5 separate regions of the Homo sapiens genome follow, and all the other regions are linked to region 4. Evidence: promoter capture Hi-C in 16 types of primary human blood cells and fetal thymus (Javierre and others, 2016). All regions are on one chromosome and are shown on one strand. Each heading gives the region's core, a stretch centred on a gene start or on the middle of the fragment in contact. The rest is flanking DNA. Distances are from core to core; before and after follow the strand shown. Region 1 overlaps BCAS3 (BCAS3 microtubule associated cell migration factor). Region 2 overlaps BCAS3 (BCAS3 microtubule associated cell migration factor). Region 3 overlaps BRIP1 (BRCA1 interacting DNA helicase 1). Region 4 holds the start of TBX4 (T-box transcription factor 4). Region 5 overlaps BCAS3 (BCAS3 microtubule associated cell migration factor).

Region 1 (2,700 bases), core at 47-2,546, 440 kb after region 4:
AAAACACAGAAGAAAAATGGATTAAGTTGAGGATAAAAGTGAACAGAGAAAATAACAATGGGCTTTGTTGCCACGCTGGAGGAATAGCTTGTCAGGTCAGCTTTGCAGAGAGGCATATTCCCAAACCAGTCATCATTAACAGACTCACTTCCACAGGAAAAAAAAAAAAAAAAAAAAGACAGAGTCTGAAAACTCCGGACAAAAGAAATCCCTGCAGACAAAGTAAAAACAAATTAAAAGACCCATTATAAAACACAGATGCTACAAGGAAAATAAACTTTCTAAGATTTACTGGGCTTTGACAAACTTGGACATTTGTGGAAAAGACATCAGCAGCAACTCCCAGGTAATGTGGCTGCAAAGTTAGACTCCCTTCTGTTTTATCTTTACCCTCTGTGCAGAAGCTGCCAGGTTGGTATTCTTAGCTTCTGAATGCAGTGATGTGAGAACATGTGAATGTGGCAAACTGCCAACTGCAAGAACTCTCTGAAGCTAGCAAAACTGAAATTGTTGAACATTTCAGATTATGTTAAATATTAAAGTTACTATCAGTGTATCTGTGTGTACATATGTATAGTTGTCTTTCTTCCGAGATACAAACAAGAAGAGGGAAAATAAAAAATGAATGTATTTGCATCCTTTCTACCTTTAAAAAATTTCCATATCTTACCATATTGTGAACCAAAGGACATAAAATCAGTTAAAATAACATTAAGGAATCAAATGACAATAGTTGTAGATCAGAAAGTACCTTAAAGGAGTGTCATACCAGAGAGAGAGAGAAATTTTTGTTACAGGTTTCTAAAAGTTATTGTTAATGGAGGACAAAGAAAGATTCTTTAGGAACAGAAGGTATGAGAAACTAAGACCTACAATGGAATAAAGTGGGTCAAGTGAAACATTTGGAGGATAAAAAGAGCACTGTCCTTCTGTTGTCATTAGACATATGAGGTAAGTATAGTATTAGAGTATTAGAGATAAGTATAGAAACGGCAAAGCTTCATTTGCAAAAAGAGCTAAAGGACACTAAGCAATGGTGCCCTGTGAAAGAGCAGTGTTATTAGGAGGTCCACATATCATCCCACTTATTCTTACCACAGACACAGACCTTATCCACTTTAGGCACTCCACTTTTCTGAAGGTTTACAATAGACACCTTCCTATAACTCAGTACTCTAGACTCCTACGACTGTATTAAATTCTGTTCTCATCACCTCTCCATACACTTATCTACAACACCCACTATTGTTCTAGGATATAAGCTCCTCACCTAGTGTCTTTGGTCTCCTATTTGGAACTCTTGCATTTTGAAATCGGATTACTGAGCCACACTGAAGCCCGAGGTCAATGTGACTCTCTGGCACTCCTCAGAAGACAATTCTACGGAAACAGCCCCAGTCCCAAATATCTCCTTTATTTTTGCCCTCTTTGCAACACTTTACCTATTCTAAGACATCATGTAGATGTTCTATTCCCTATATCATATCTTTCAAAAATAAAAACTAGATGATGAGTTCTACGGGGCCTTTTTTTTTATTTTTTTATTTTTTATTTTTTGGTAAACTTTTGTCTTCTACAGAAGAGCAAAGCTTTTGGACTGTTTTTAATATCTTGCTGTGGAATTGACAGGGATAAAAATCTAAAATATACCAAGGAGTTTAACTAAGTTAATTCTGTAGTTGAAAAGCTCTGACTTCTTGACTCTGTCAAAGAATACAATGGTAGCTTGTTTTGAAATAGTCACTGGAAATGTGGGCTCTGAAAAGTTAAAAACACTGCTTAGTTCTTGCTTGCCATCCAATTTAACATTAAAGTTTTTTCAACCAAACTCTCAATAGTTATTTAACAAAAAATACCCTGTGTAGAAGGGAATTTCCTGCAGGTGGGTTATTTTTGGTTGGGATGGGAGTGTGTGTCTCTCTCTCCATCTCTCTCTTCTCCCCTTTCCTAGATGAGAATGTCAAGCTTCCCAGCTGCAGTTCCAGGACTTTCACCCTCCTTTATGACCTTTTCTCAGGCATGTTCCAGTATAATCTGCAATCTACTCAAGTCGGAAAAGGAAACAGCAGCACCCTGGTGAGAAACAGTGCCTTCTGACCCACATACCAAACTGGGCGGAAGCAATGCTTGTTCACAGGAGCCAAGGAGAGTAGAACACACACTAAAAGAAAATGAATTTTATGTGTGTGTGTGTGTGTGTGTGTCGACACACAGACACACATTTTTAAAGACTATAAACACAACAAACAGTTTGGGTGACAAATAAAGACAGAAAATACTGAAGGACAATCCTGTGTGGGCACTGATTCATTTTGCCTATAACTTTTTTTTGGAGGCAATCGATGGTGAAGTAAAAACACTGCAATTTTTGATGCATTTCAAGCAAAAACACTTGTTGCTTTCTTTGAGTAAAAAGTTCACGTCACCATAGACATTACTGTAGGTACTTTGAGAAAGGGTGAGAAGGTAGGAAGATTAGAGAAATCTCCCACAAAATGGACTTGAAAACAAGAATCCAATCTTTCTTTTTTTTTTTTAAACAGGATGGGGATTGAGATTATTAATGATAGTGTCATCACTTCTCCCCACTACATACAAAGTAGCCTGCATGGAGCTTTGCCTAGGGCTTATTAAATGTCACTAGAATTAAAAGTGTACTTTCAGGAGAATTGAAACTGTATATATTTATGTACGAATACT
Region 2 (2,700 bases), core at 66-2,565, 480 kb after region 4:
ATCTCTGGTAATAGGCTTTGTCTTAAATTCTATTTTAGTTGATACTAATATAGTTGAATTTCCAATATTCTTATGTTTCTTATTTGGATGATGTATCTTTTAATATACATTTACTATCATATTAATGTCTCTATATTCAACACTACCTTATAGGCAATTTCTTCCTTTATATTGGAGTACATTAATATTTAATTTCTATATGGTTGAATTTTGATATACCATTTAATATCTGTTTTCTGTTTATCCCTCTTTTTCTTGTGCTTCTGCCTTTCCTTTCCTGTCTTTTGTATTAACTGAACATTTTTTAGTATGCCATTTTCATTGAAGCATTGATTTTTTATGTATAGCAATGTTGAACCTTGCAATAGTACAGCTCCATATACCTGCCTCCACCCTAGCACCCTCCATCTTTGTGCTATAGTTGTCATATGTATTACATGTACATATAATACAATACCAACAAAATAATTCAATCATTCCCATATATTAGACACAAATTTTTAAAAGGGAAAAATCATCCTTTCTATTCAACAAGAAATGACCATATTCTTCACTATTTCCTAAAGCTGCAAGTTTGCTTCTGGTATTATGTGCCATTAGCATAATTTACAGTGTGGATGTCTCGCCTTTACTGCTCCTTCATCCTTGAGAGATATTGTTGTTTGATGGAAAACTTCAGGTGGCCAATATTTTATTCTTTGAGTCCTTCAGACATGTTATTCCACTGTCTTCTGACTTCCATGGTTTCCAGTGAGAAGTCAATAGTGTGTTAAAATGTACTTTCTGTGTGTGCAATGCATTACTTTTGTCTGCCTACTTTCAAGATTTCCTCCTTACTTTGGTTTTCAGAAAAATGACTATGATGTCCTTTGACATGGTTTTTGTTGTACTTAATCTTATGTGTTGTTTGCTTATCTTTTTGAAGTTGTAAATGTATGTCTTTCAACAAAAGTGGAAAGTTTCCCACTTTTAGATTTTTTTTCCTCCCTTACTCTCCTCACCTTCTGCAATAACTACATGTATGTTGGCTCTGATATTGTCCCACAAGTTGCTAAGGCTCTACTTATTTTCTATTTTTTCACTCATTTGGTTTGGAAATTTCTAGTGATCTATCTGCAAATTCATTTACTCACTCAAATTCTGCTATTAACACATCCATTTCATTTTTATTTTTGATATTGTATTTTTAAGTTGTAGACTTTTCACTAGGTAATTTCCTATATTTTCTCTTTCTCTGCTGACATTTCCTACCCTTTTATTTAAAAGAAGCATATTTTCCTTCATATCACTGAGCATAGTAATAATAGATGCTTTAAAATAATTTCTACTAGAAGATGGAGACTTCCAGTTCCAAAACGGTGGTATAGAAGCTAGCTGGCTTCACTACCCCTGCAGAAAACCAAAAACAAATATATAGTACCGAGATTTTAACCAGAAACACTCAGAACTCAAATATGAGGATGAGACAATTCCTGAGGCCACAGAGAAGTGAAAAAGAAAACCTCAGAGTGAATGGTAAGAGATTCAGACTTCCAGATCTGTAATGCCCCTCCCCCGATTCTGCCTGGCATCAAGAGCACAGAAAATCTCCCCCCCCAACTCATGGTGACTATACTGGAAAAAGTGAGACTGAGGTGGTAAACCAGCTTTCCCACCATCTTGGGTGCTCTGGCAGGAAAACTATCCTTGCCTTAACTGGCAGGAAGTATCGTGGCTGCCTGATGGGAGAAACAACCCTGAGGACAGGCCAAGACAAAGTGGGGAGGCTAGACTACCATCCCTAGCCCTGGAAACTTTGTTCCATTACTTGGCCAAAGGAGACACCAAATTAGAGTGGCTGTTCAGCAGCACCATGTAGTAGGCAATACATTACAAAGGTCCCTGGGCACAAACCCCTAGCCAGACTTGACACACTGTGGGGATAACCACTTTGGGATGCTCCCAAATCAGGATAGGCAGTACTACAATCATTTAGCAGAGCCAAGGTGAACCTGGGCTTTAGGTACCACCTATATCCAAAAAAAAAAGGCAACAACTTAGCTGTAAAGATTCACTAACAGGCCAGACACGCTGCCTCATGCTTGTAATTCCAGTGCCTTGAAAGGCCAAGGCAGGTGAGAGGATCACTTCAGGCCAGGAGTTTGTGACAGGCAGGGCAACACAATGAGAGTCTGTCTCTAACAACAACAACAAAAAAAATTCTTTTTAAAGTTAGCCAGGTATGGTGTCACGTGCCTGTAGTCCTAGCTACTCAGGAGGCTGAGGTTAGAGGATTGCTCCAGCCCAAGAGTTCAAGATTACAGTGAGCAATGACTGCACCACTGTACTCCAGCCTGGGCAACAAAATGAGCCCTGACTCTAAAAGGATTAAAAAAAATGCACTAAGCAAAATATACCCAATAAAATCAAAACAAGGTAGACAGATAAAACTGAAATAAAGTATCAATGCAAAGATACAGATATACACACGAAAAAAACAACAGCAAGTAGGGAATTATGACCTCTCCAATGGACAAAGCAAAACTCCAGTGACAGACCCTAATGAAAGAGTGATCTGTGAGCCCTCTGACCAAGAATTCAAAATAGCAGTTTTAAGAAAACTCAGTGATCTCCAAAACAACAACAACAACAACAACAACAACAAACACACAGAAAAGCAATTCAGAAATTTATCAGAGAAATTTAACAAAGAGATTGGGA
Region 3 (2,700 bases), core at 67-2,566, 390 kb before region 4:
AGCAGGATGGATGTCCTGGGGAGAAGCGCCTGTAGGATAGTTTGGATTGTGAGCTGACTAGCCACTTTTTGTCATGGAACATCATTTTTGCTTGAAAAAGAGTGAATGATATACTAACCATGGTAATTCTTTATGATAAAATGAGCCAGATAAAATTTGAGCTTTCAAGTGAAAATCAGAATTTTAAAAAATTTGTATATACTCTGAGCTTGGCAGCTTTGTGATAACTACAGACTTTTCTGATGAAATTGGTGATATTACAGAATATGACTTTTTATATTTATATAATGAAATGTGTCAACATTTGTAAGATCTGTAAAACTCAATGAACTTAAACTCAGCGAACTAAATATTATTTAAATGACCAGTGCATGATATTGCAAAATGATGCCTAGAAAAGGTCCATCCTAAGTGCAAGATAGACTGATGGACCTTTTTTCTGCCCTGTCCCCCCATTCCCAGGCAACCACAGATTTGTTTTCAGTTACTGTACATTTAATTTGTGTTTTGTTGGTGATCTTCACTGAAGCTTTATATTAATAGTTGGAGAAATTATGTAGAAGCTTCTTCTGTTAAATTGCAATAATCATCAACATCATTATAATGTAAGCTATATGTTGAGCTCTGCCACAGTGTTTTCTCATTCATTTTCTTTCCTTTCCTTCATGGGCTTACTATTATCTGAAATTACTTGATTACTTGTTTATTATTTGTCTGTCCTATTACGATGTAATGTCAGTCTTTTTCATGTGTGTCCCTCATGCCTAGAATAGCATATGGTGCATATTAGTTGTCTAATAAATATTTATTTGTTGAATGTTACTGAGTTCTTACAATGATTATGAAGCAGGTATATTGGTATTCCCATCGTACAGATGAGGAAACTCTGAGAAGGAAGAAACTGGCCTAAGATCACAAAGCTAGTAAATAGTAGAGCTAAATCCTGCCTAGGCATTCTCATGTTCTGGCAAATGCCCTAATCACTTTATTTTATATTCTCTCTAAAATGCCTCTTTGCAGTCCTGGAGCCACCTAAATAGGGTTCTAACACCAAGATAAGGAAAGAAATATGTAGAAGCTCACAGATAAACAAATCAAGTATAGAGTCACCTGTGATTAAGATTTTTTTTTCTTGGGAATTGTTTTTGTTTGCTTTATTTGTAGACACAGGGTCTCAATGTGTTGCCCATGTTGTAACGCAGTGGTGTGATCATAGCCCACTGTAACCTCAAAATCCCAGGCTCAAGTGATCCTCCAACCCCAGCCTCCTGAATAGCAAGGACTACAGCTGTGCAACACCATGCCCAGCTAATTTTTTATTTTTATTTTTTGTAGAGATGAGGTCTCACTGTGTTGCCCAGGTTGGTCTCAAACTCATGGCCTCCAGTGATCCTCTTGCCTGGGCCTCCCAGAGTTTTGGGATTATAGGCATGAATCACTGCACCTGGCTTGTTTTGTTTTTATTGGTTAAGAGAATGGACTTTGGACACATACTGCCTGATCTTAATTTTTAAATAAAGATTGGGCCAGGCATCATGGCTCATGCCTATAATCTCAGCACTTTGGGAGGCCAAGGTGAGAGGATTGCTTGAGGTCAGGAGTTCAAGACCAACCTGGGCAACATAACGAGACCCTGTCTTTATAAAGAATAGAAGAAAAAAAATAGCTGTGTGTGGTGGTGTGTACTTGTAGTCCTAGCTACTCAGGAGGCTGAGGGAGGGGGATCCCTTGAGCCAGAAGATTGAGGCTGTATTGAACTATGATTGAACCACTGTACTCCAGTCTGGGTGACAGAGCGAGACCCTGTCTCTAAAAAAAAATAAAAAATAAATACATAAAATAAAAATTATATATATTTTAGGTGTAAAACATGATGTTTTAATATATATATACATAGTGAAATTATTACTACAGCCAAGCTGTGATAGTCTGTTTGAATTGTTATAAAGCAATACCAGAGGCTGGGCAATTTATAAAGAAAAGAGGTTTATTTTCACTCACAGTTCTGTAGGCTGTGCAGGAAGCATGGTGTCAGCATCTGCTTCTGGTGAGGGCCTCAAGAAGCTTACAAGCATGCCAGAAGACAAAGAGAGAGCAAACTTGTCACATGGAAAGAGAGGACAGAGGAGAGAGCAGAGGAGGTTCCACACTGTTTTAAATAACCAGATCTCGTGTGACCTCAGAGCAAGAACTCAACTCATTACTGTGAGGAGGGCACCAGCCATTGATGACCCAAGCACTTTACACTAGGCCCCACCTCCAACTTGGGGGATCACATTTCAGCATGAGAGTTGGAGGGGACACACTTCCAAATCATATCACAAGCTAATTAATATATTCATCTCCTTACATAGTTACCTTTTGTGTGTGTGTGTGTGTTGAGAACACCTGAAAATTTTAAAGCCAATATCGAAATATCCAGCCTAGAATATAGTATTATTAACTGTTGTCATGATGCTGTTCATTAGATCTCTAGACTTGATTCATCCTATGTAGATTCAACTTTTTACTCTTTGATCAACATCTCCTCAAATCCCCCACCTCCCTGCCCCAGTAACCATTGTTCTGATTTCTGTTTCTATGTATTTGACTTTTTTAGATTCCACGTATAAGTGAGATCATGTAGTATTTTTCCTTCTACATCTGACATATTTCACTTTGCATAATGTCCTCCCTCCAGGTTCATCCATGTTGTCACAA
Region 4 (2,700 bases), core at 86-2,585:
TTCAACACACCCCGACAGTATCTTGTTACTTTGTCATTATTTGTAATGTTACAGATCTGAACTCGCTAGTTACTCATCACATCATTACTTCTTGTTATTTTGTCATACTTTGTAATATTGTTGTAGCTCTTAATACTCTGATTATTTTTCATCACATTGGTACAATACTTCTTATTACTCAACCATTATTTATAATGTTCTTGTGACTATTAATACATTGGTCATAAATTGTCATATTACTCCAGCAATTCTTGTTAATATGTCTTTATTTATATTACTATTGCTCCTAAGATTTTAGTTAATATTTCTTTTAATAGTTCACTGTAGTATCAATAATACATTATATTATTATATCACTACCACTAATAGTATTTCCCTTAATAGTATTTTCATTGTTCATCTTTCTCCTACAGTTCGTTTGCTAGTTTCCTACAGTTTGGTAATTTGTTACACTATTACTATATGTTATATTAGTGCAATTGGTTTTAATAAACAGTCCTTACATTGTTCCTCTATTTAGAATTACTTTGTCTTTAATCCTTTTAAAAATTGTGATTACTATTTTCACTTGATTCTGAAAGTGACTATGATTGTATTATTTGGAAGTTCACGTGTTATATCAGTTATGCCGATTAGCCCTTTCTTTGGTAATTGTTCACATTCCAATAATCTTTAATCATCGATCATTATTTATATATAATGTTCCTTGCTTTAATTTTGACTAGTCTATTGCATCAAAGGCTCTGAGTCTAGTGTTCTGATCACTCACATATCTACACGGATTTTCGCTCCAGTACCGGGGCCCTCTTCCTTGGCCTTGCATATTCTGCAAACACCAATTTCCAGGCCACCGCTCCGCCTGTCACGGCCTTGTTCTTAGGGTGCTGGCGCTGTCGATATTTCTATGCTCTTGGATCTCTAGACCCAATTCATCGCGTTACTCAGAGAGGAGGGCTCGTGCCCCAACTACTGGGTGTCGGGCCGAGGCGGCGGCCCGACCCAAGGCACTTCGCGCCGCCTTCCTGCAACTTTGACCGCCCCTGAAGTTCTTCCCCGGGTCGCGTGACTCACCCCTTTCCAGCTCATCCTCCTGTCCGTCCCCGCAGCCTAACCCTGAGCCCCTGTGGCCCCAGCCCCGCACGCCCAGCTCGTCCCCACTCGGCTGGAACCCACACTCACCCTAATTGCGGTGCCGCATGCGGAGGCGCCAGCGGCCCGAGGTCCCCTGCAGGTTCGGGTCCGAGGAGCGCGGGACGGCCGGGGCTCCGACTCCGCGCCGCTGGGTCAGGGTCCAGCTGCCTGCCGTGCCCTCGGGGCTGGACACATCCCGGCTCTGGAGCGGGCCCTTGATCTCCAAGGCTGCACTTTGGGGCCTCAATTCCCTCCTCCTCCCTCCCTCCCTCTGGGGCCGCCCCCCCTCCGCGCTGACGTCGCCGCTGTCAATCAGTCTGCGCCCGCTGTCCCCCGGGGAGGGGGGCTCCAGGGTTCCCCGGCGTCGCGGTCCCCAAGATCCCGAGCCCCACGCGAGCCGCCGGCTCCTCCACCGCGCGGCCCAGTGCCCTCCTCTTGGCCCTCGGGCCCCGCGAGCCGGGTAGGGGCTGGGAGCCCCGCATGGTTTAGATTAGAGAGGCGGGAAGCAAGGGCGAGCAGCCCGGCTCTCAGCCGAGGCTCGACAACCAGGAGGGCTCGCCTGGCCCCGCCGTGCCCGAAGACTAGGACGCTCCACGACCGGGTCTGGCCACCCCCTGCCGGCGCCCGCTTCCAGGCAGCGGCTTCTACGGATCCCCGGCCGCAGAGCCCCGCTCCCCAAGCCCTGCTCCCAGCTGTGCGCGCTGTTCATTTGGGAGCCCCGGTCCCGAGGTCGCAGGCGCACACGCGCCTCACAGGCCCACGCTCCGCTTCCCTACCATGCCCACCACGCGGCCTTGCACTTCCAGGCCCTGGGCACGGCCCTTCTGCTCACCCGCCCTCCTTGTCCCGGCCCAGGGGGCCGCGGGCGCTGGACCCGGCCTGGCGCGCCTCGAAGTCGGCCGCGGAGGTCAGGGGTGAGGACTGGGAGGAAGCCCGGTGGCCGGGTGCGGGGCGGCGGCGGCAGGGAAGTGCTGGGCCGGCCTCTGAGTGGAGCCGAGTCCGGCTCGGGCCTTGACAGAGCCCAGGCCGGGCTGCAAGGTGCCAGGCTTGGCAGAGCCTCCTGGGGAAACTGCGGCCCAGGGCCAGGATTCCGCGGCAGCTCCTTGAGATCCTGGAGAGCTGAAGAGGAAGCCCAATGCCTGCCCTAGTCTAGGAAGTGGAGACTGGGGAGCGTCCTGCTCCCAGCCACCCGGTTCTTTCCGCCTCAGAAACGGAGTCCCGCTCAGCACCTAGACCTCCCTGCCCAGCCTCTGAGCTCTCTGTCTCCACTTACCTCTGTTTCTCTCTGTCTGTACCTCCCACAGGACGCTGCCTTTCCACTAGCAGACGGACCCATGCGGACCCCAGCCCGTGCCCCAGCCTCCCCGCCTGTCACATGCCCAGAATCCTGGGGCAGAAATAGGCCTGCCCACCCATCTGCAAAGACAGCAGAATCCTCATCAATAAGGATCCCCAGAGTGGTCCCTTAGTGCTTAGCATGGGCTGCATCCCTCCCTCCACCAGTGTCCTCAACCAGCCTCTGTCCCTTTCCAGATTCTGACCTCAAAATCAGCTTGAAGGGGAGAGGAC
Region 5 (2,700 bases), core at 68-2,567, 420 kb after region 4:
GAAAGTAACATTTTAAAGGAGAACCTTTTAGTCTAGTATAAGTGACTAAAAACGAGTTTCTTGTGAGCTAACGATGGCATCAAACAAACCACAAAGCAGTCTTCTAAAAGACAGGCAATGATTTAAAAGTCTACTATATTTAATATATCCCTTTCTTTAATCTGGCTCTTTTAATCTTGTTTCAACCTCAAATCATTTCTGGTTGACAAGTGCTTTTGCTTAAATGTGAGGAGCACGTAAGCTGTTGAAGGAATGAACTTTACTTACTTAACATACAACAGTTGTTATTCCATCTTTTACTTCTATGCAAAACTTCAATCTTTATTAACATACTACAACTCTTTGCTTTGTACTTAGAAGAAGAATTTATCCTAAAATGGAATTTAATTCTAAGTTTACAAAGAAATTTTGTCATATGTTGAATGTGGCATTTAAAATTCACTGATCACTGGAAGGCTCATAAGTAAGATCTGTGTATCTTATTTGTTTTTAGAAGACATCTGGTTAACAAAATGAATAAAGATCAACTTTCATGAGATTTATATTCTTGTATATCCTGAATTTGTTTAGAATAGTTTTGCAAACTGTGTCTAATTATAATTTTCAAGGAGGAAAATTTTATGTTGATTTGTTTTATGTCACCTATTATTAAGCAATAACAAAATTTTCAGATCTTCCTATGGCATATAAACATTGAAATAAGTTTGTGTCAAATAATAATTAACCTTAAAGAACTATTTAAGCTTCTTTCTGTCCAAGAGGAAAAAACGTTGGAATGTTTTTTTCTAGTGTAATAGAACAGTATGAACAATCCCCATTTAGCAGTTATGAGAACTACACATATGTGCAGAACTCTTTTCAGTATTCTGACTAAATTAATAAAATTAATATAGCTTACATTTCTCAAAACTTCGCACTGGTTAACATATCCTTAAAAGTGAAAAACATAATCTAATTTAAATAAGCTTCTTTTGAAACACGGTATTTTTCCCTGAAACAGGAAAAGAAACAGTGGTAGCAGCTAACATTTACTGCACATTTACTATGTGCCAGGCACTGTTATATACTAACACATACTGAGATATGTATCAGCTTATTTAATACTCATAGTGAGTCCATTACATAGGTACATTTAATACATAAGGAAATAAGAAATAGAAAGGTTTTAGAAAACTCCCCCCAAATCATATAGCTAGTAAGTGTGTCAATTGGGATCTAAGACCCAGGCAGTCTGACTCTTAACCATTAAACATTTTATACCATTCTTAACACATTCTACTTCCTATCTTTACATGAAAGTATTAAATATATTCGAATTCTTTTCTATGACCTTCCTGTCTAAGACTGACAAAGCTGTATTCTGTGCACTGACATGAAAGAATTTACCAAATAATTAAGCTATGATGAGTATGTGCTAATAATTCAAAATAATAAATTATTTAGGAGGTTTTATGTAAAATATATATTTTGTCATTATGTAGCTCCTTAAATACCTAAACTATTCAAAAACAGAACTTTTGTCTCTTTAGGACCAAATAAAATGCAACAAAAACTTTATAAGGTGCTTTTGGTATACCTTAAATATATTTATATTTCAAAATAAATCATGTCCTCAAATGCTATGCATGATATGTAGGTAACTTCTAATGCCATAATACTCAAAGCTTTAAACTTGGGTGTTAGCCTTGTCTTGTAATATTTACGAGCATTATGAGAGAATTCTTCTATTTAAAAAAAATTCATCTGTGGTTTTTTTTTTTTTGTTTTTTACTTTTTAAAGAATGAAGTGAAACCAAGAAAACCACTTTTCTAAAGCTTAAATATCAACATTCATGTTCCATCTACAAATTATTCAGTAACTTGGTGCATCTATCTGTGATCAGGCCATGCAACTGGAAACAAAACTACAAAACAAATTACTTTTTGAGAGTACAGCAAATGAATGAGGCATGCGGGACTGAACTGGAACTCACCATGGGGCTTTTATGGAAAAACACCCCGCTCCAAAGAGATAAGGCCTTCATGGAAAAGGGGGAAAAATGCACAAAAAATTAGAGAAAAACTCATTTAACATTAGCAAATACAAGTATATCATACTGTTATAGAGTATGGATAAAAATAACTAAAAAATTAGTAATCATTTACAATTCTGCTGTACATACTGTCTGATATAACCAATAAACAGAATGATGTGTAGTAACAAGGCCCTTAATTTTCAGAGTTAGAGATTCAAAATTTTCTATTTCTCCCCCTTTTCTGGAGCACCCCTGTAGTATTTCTAAGTTAAAATAAAATAAAATTCACTGCTGAAGCCCTTTAAAACAAGGTATAAGTTAAATGGAATAACCAGATGGAGAAGAGTGAGATCAATAGCAACAAATGTGTAGCTATGTGACACAAAATGGTTAAAATTAGCTAACGATGACTGGATAAAAAATTTGATATGAATTGTCTGCTTTTCACTGGTTCCAGTCTCAGAACCACAGAAAGAGGCACATATTTTTCAAGCTGCTTATTTGTCGTAAGTTGAATTGTATATTGTTGGTCAAAGGAAAAAACACTAAGTACAACTAGTATAATTTTTCTCTATTTTTGGCCATAATCCAGGAAATTAGGATATCTCTTAATAGTGGTCTAAGAGGTTAGCTTCCTTTACCTGGTCTGCACTAGATTAGGTTAGTACGCAGCAAACTAAAGCTA

The links. Contacts are between HindIII fragments. The CHiCAGO score rates a contact against its expected background, and 5 or more counts as called.
Region 1: a contact is called between a fragment that was not itself captured here and the fragment with the promoter of TBX4 in region 4, in 4 of 17 cell types (naive B cells, total B cells, naive CD4 T cells and 1 more). The highest score is 8.5, in naive B cells.
Region 2: a contact is called between a fragment that was not itself captured here and the fragment with the promoter of TBX4 in region 4, in 4 of 17 cell types (naive CD8 T cells, total CD4 T cells, naive CD4 T cells and 1 more). The highest score is 6.0, in naive CD8 T cells.
Region 3: a contact is called between a fragment that was not itself captured here and the fragment with the promoter of TBX4 in region 4, in 3 of 17 cell types (naive B cells, monocytes and M0 macrophages). The highest score is 6.2, in naive B cells.
Region 5: a contact is called between a fragment that was not itself captured here and the fragment with the promoter of TBX4 in region 4, in 2 of 17 cell types (total B cells and naive CD4 T cells). The highest score is 6.0, in total B cells.

The regions. Positions count from the first base shown.
Region 1 is chr17:61,007,546-61,010,245 of GRCh38, reverse strand. All of the region lies in intron 15 of BCAS3 (BCAS3 microtubule associated cell migration factor), which reads right to left. Among named protein-coding and RNA genes, the nearest start is that of BCAS3-AS1, 130 kb to the left of the region's middle. The HindIII fragment of the contact is 591 bases long and covers 1,001-1,591 here.
Region 2 is chr17:60,967,894-60,970,593 of GRCh38, reverse strand. The region is part of intron 14 of BCAS3 (BCAS3 microtubule associated cell migration factor); the gene reads right to left. Among named protein-coding and RNA genes, the nearest start is that of BCAS3-AS1, 170 kb to the left of the region's middle. The HindIII fragment of the contact is 4,247 bases long and covers 1-2,700 here.
Region 3 is chr17:61,843,053-61,845,752 of GRCh38, reverse strand. The region is part of intron 6 of BRIP1 (BRCA1 interacting DNA helicase 1); the gene reads left to right. Among named protein-coding and RNA genes, the nearest start is that of BRIP1, 19 kb to the left of the region's middle. The HindIII fragment of the contact is 1,501 bases long and covers 566-2,066 here.
Region 4 is chr17:61,451,057-61,453,756 of GRCh38, reverse strand. It overlaps TBX4 (T-box transcription factor 4), which reads right to left and starts at 1,335. Exons shown (of 9, transcript NM_001321120.2): 1 at 1,180-1,335. LOC124904042 (a long non-coding RNA gene) reads left to right here. Exons shown (of 2, transcript XR_007065872.1): 2 at 1-515. RefSeq lists an enhancer at 524-1,365. The HindIII fragment of the contact is 10,401 bases long and covers 1-2,700 here.
Region 5 is chr17:61,026,184-61,028,883 of GRCh38, reverse strand. The region is part of intron 16 of BCAS3 (BCAS3 microtubule associated cell migration factor); the gene reads right to left. Among named protein-coding and RNA genes, the nearest start is that of BCAS3-AS1, 110 kb to the left of the region's middle. The HindIII fragment of the contact is 699 bases long and covers 968-1,666 here.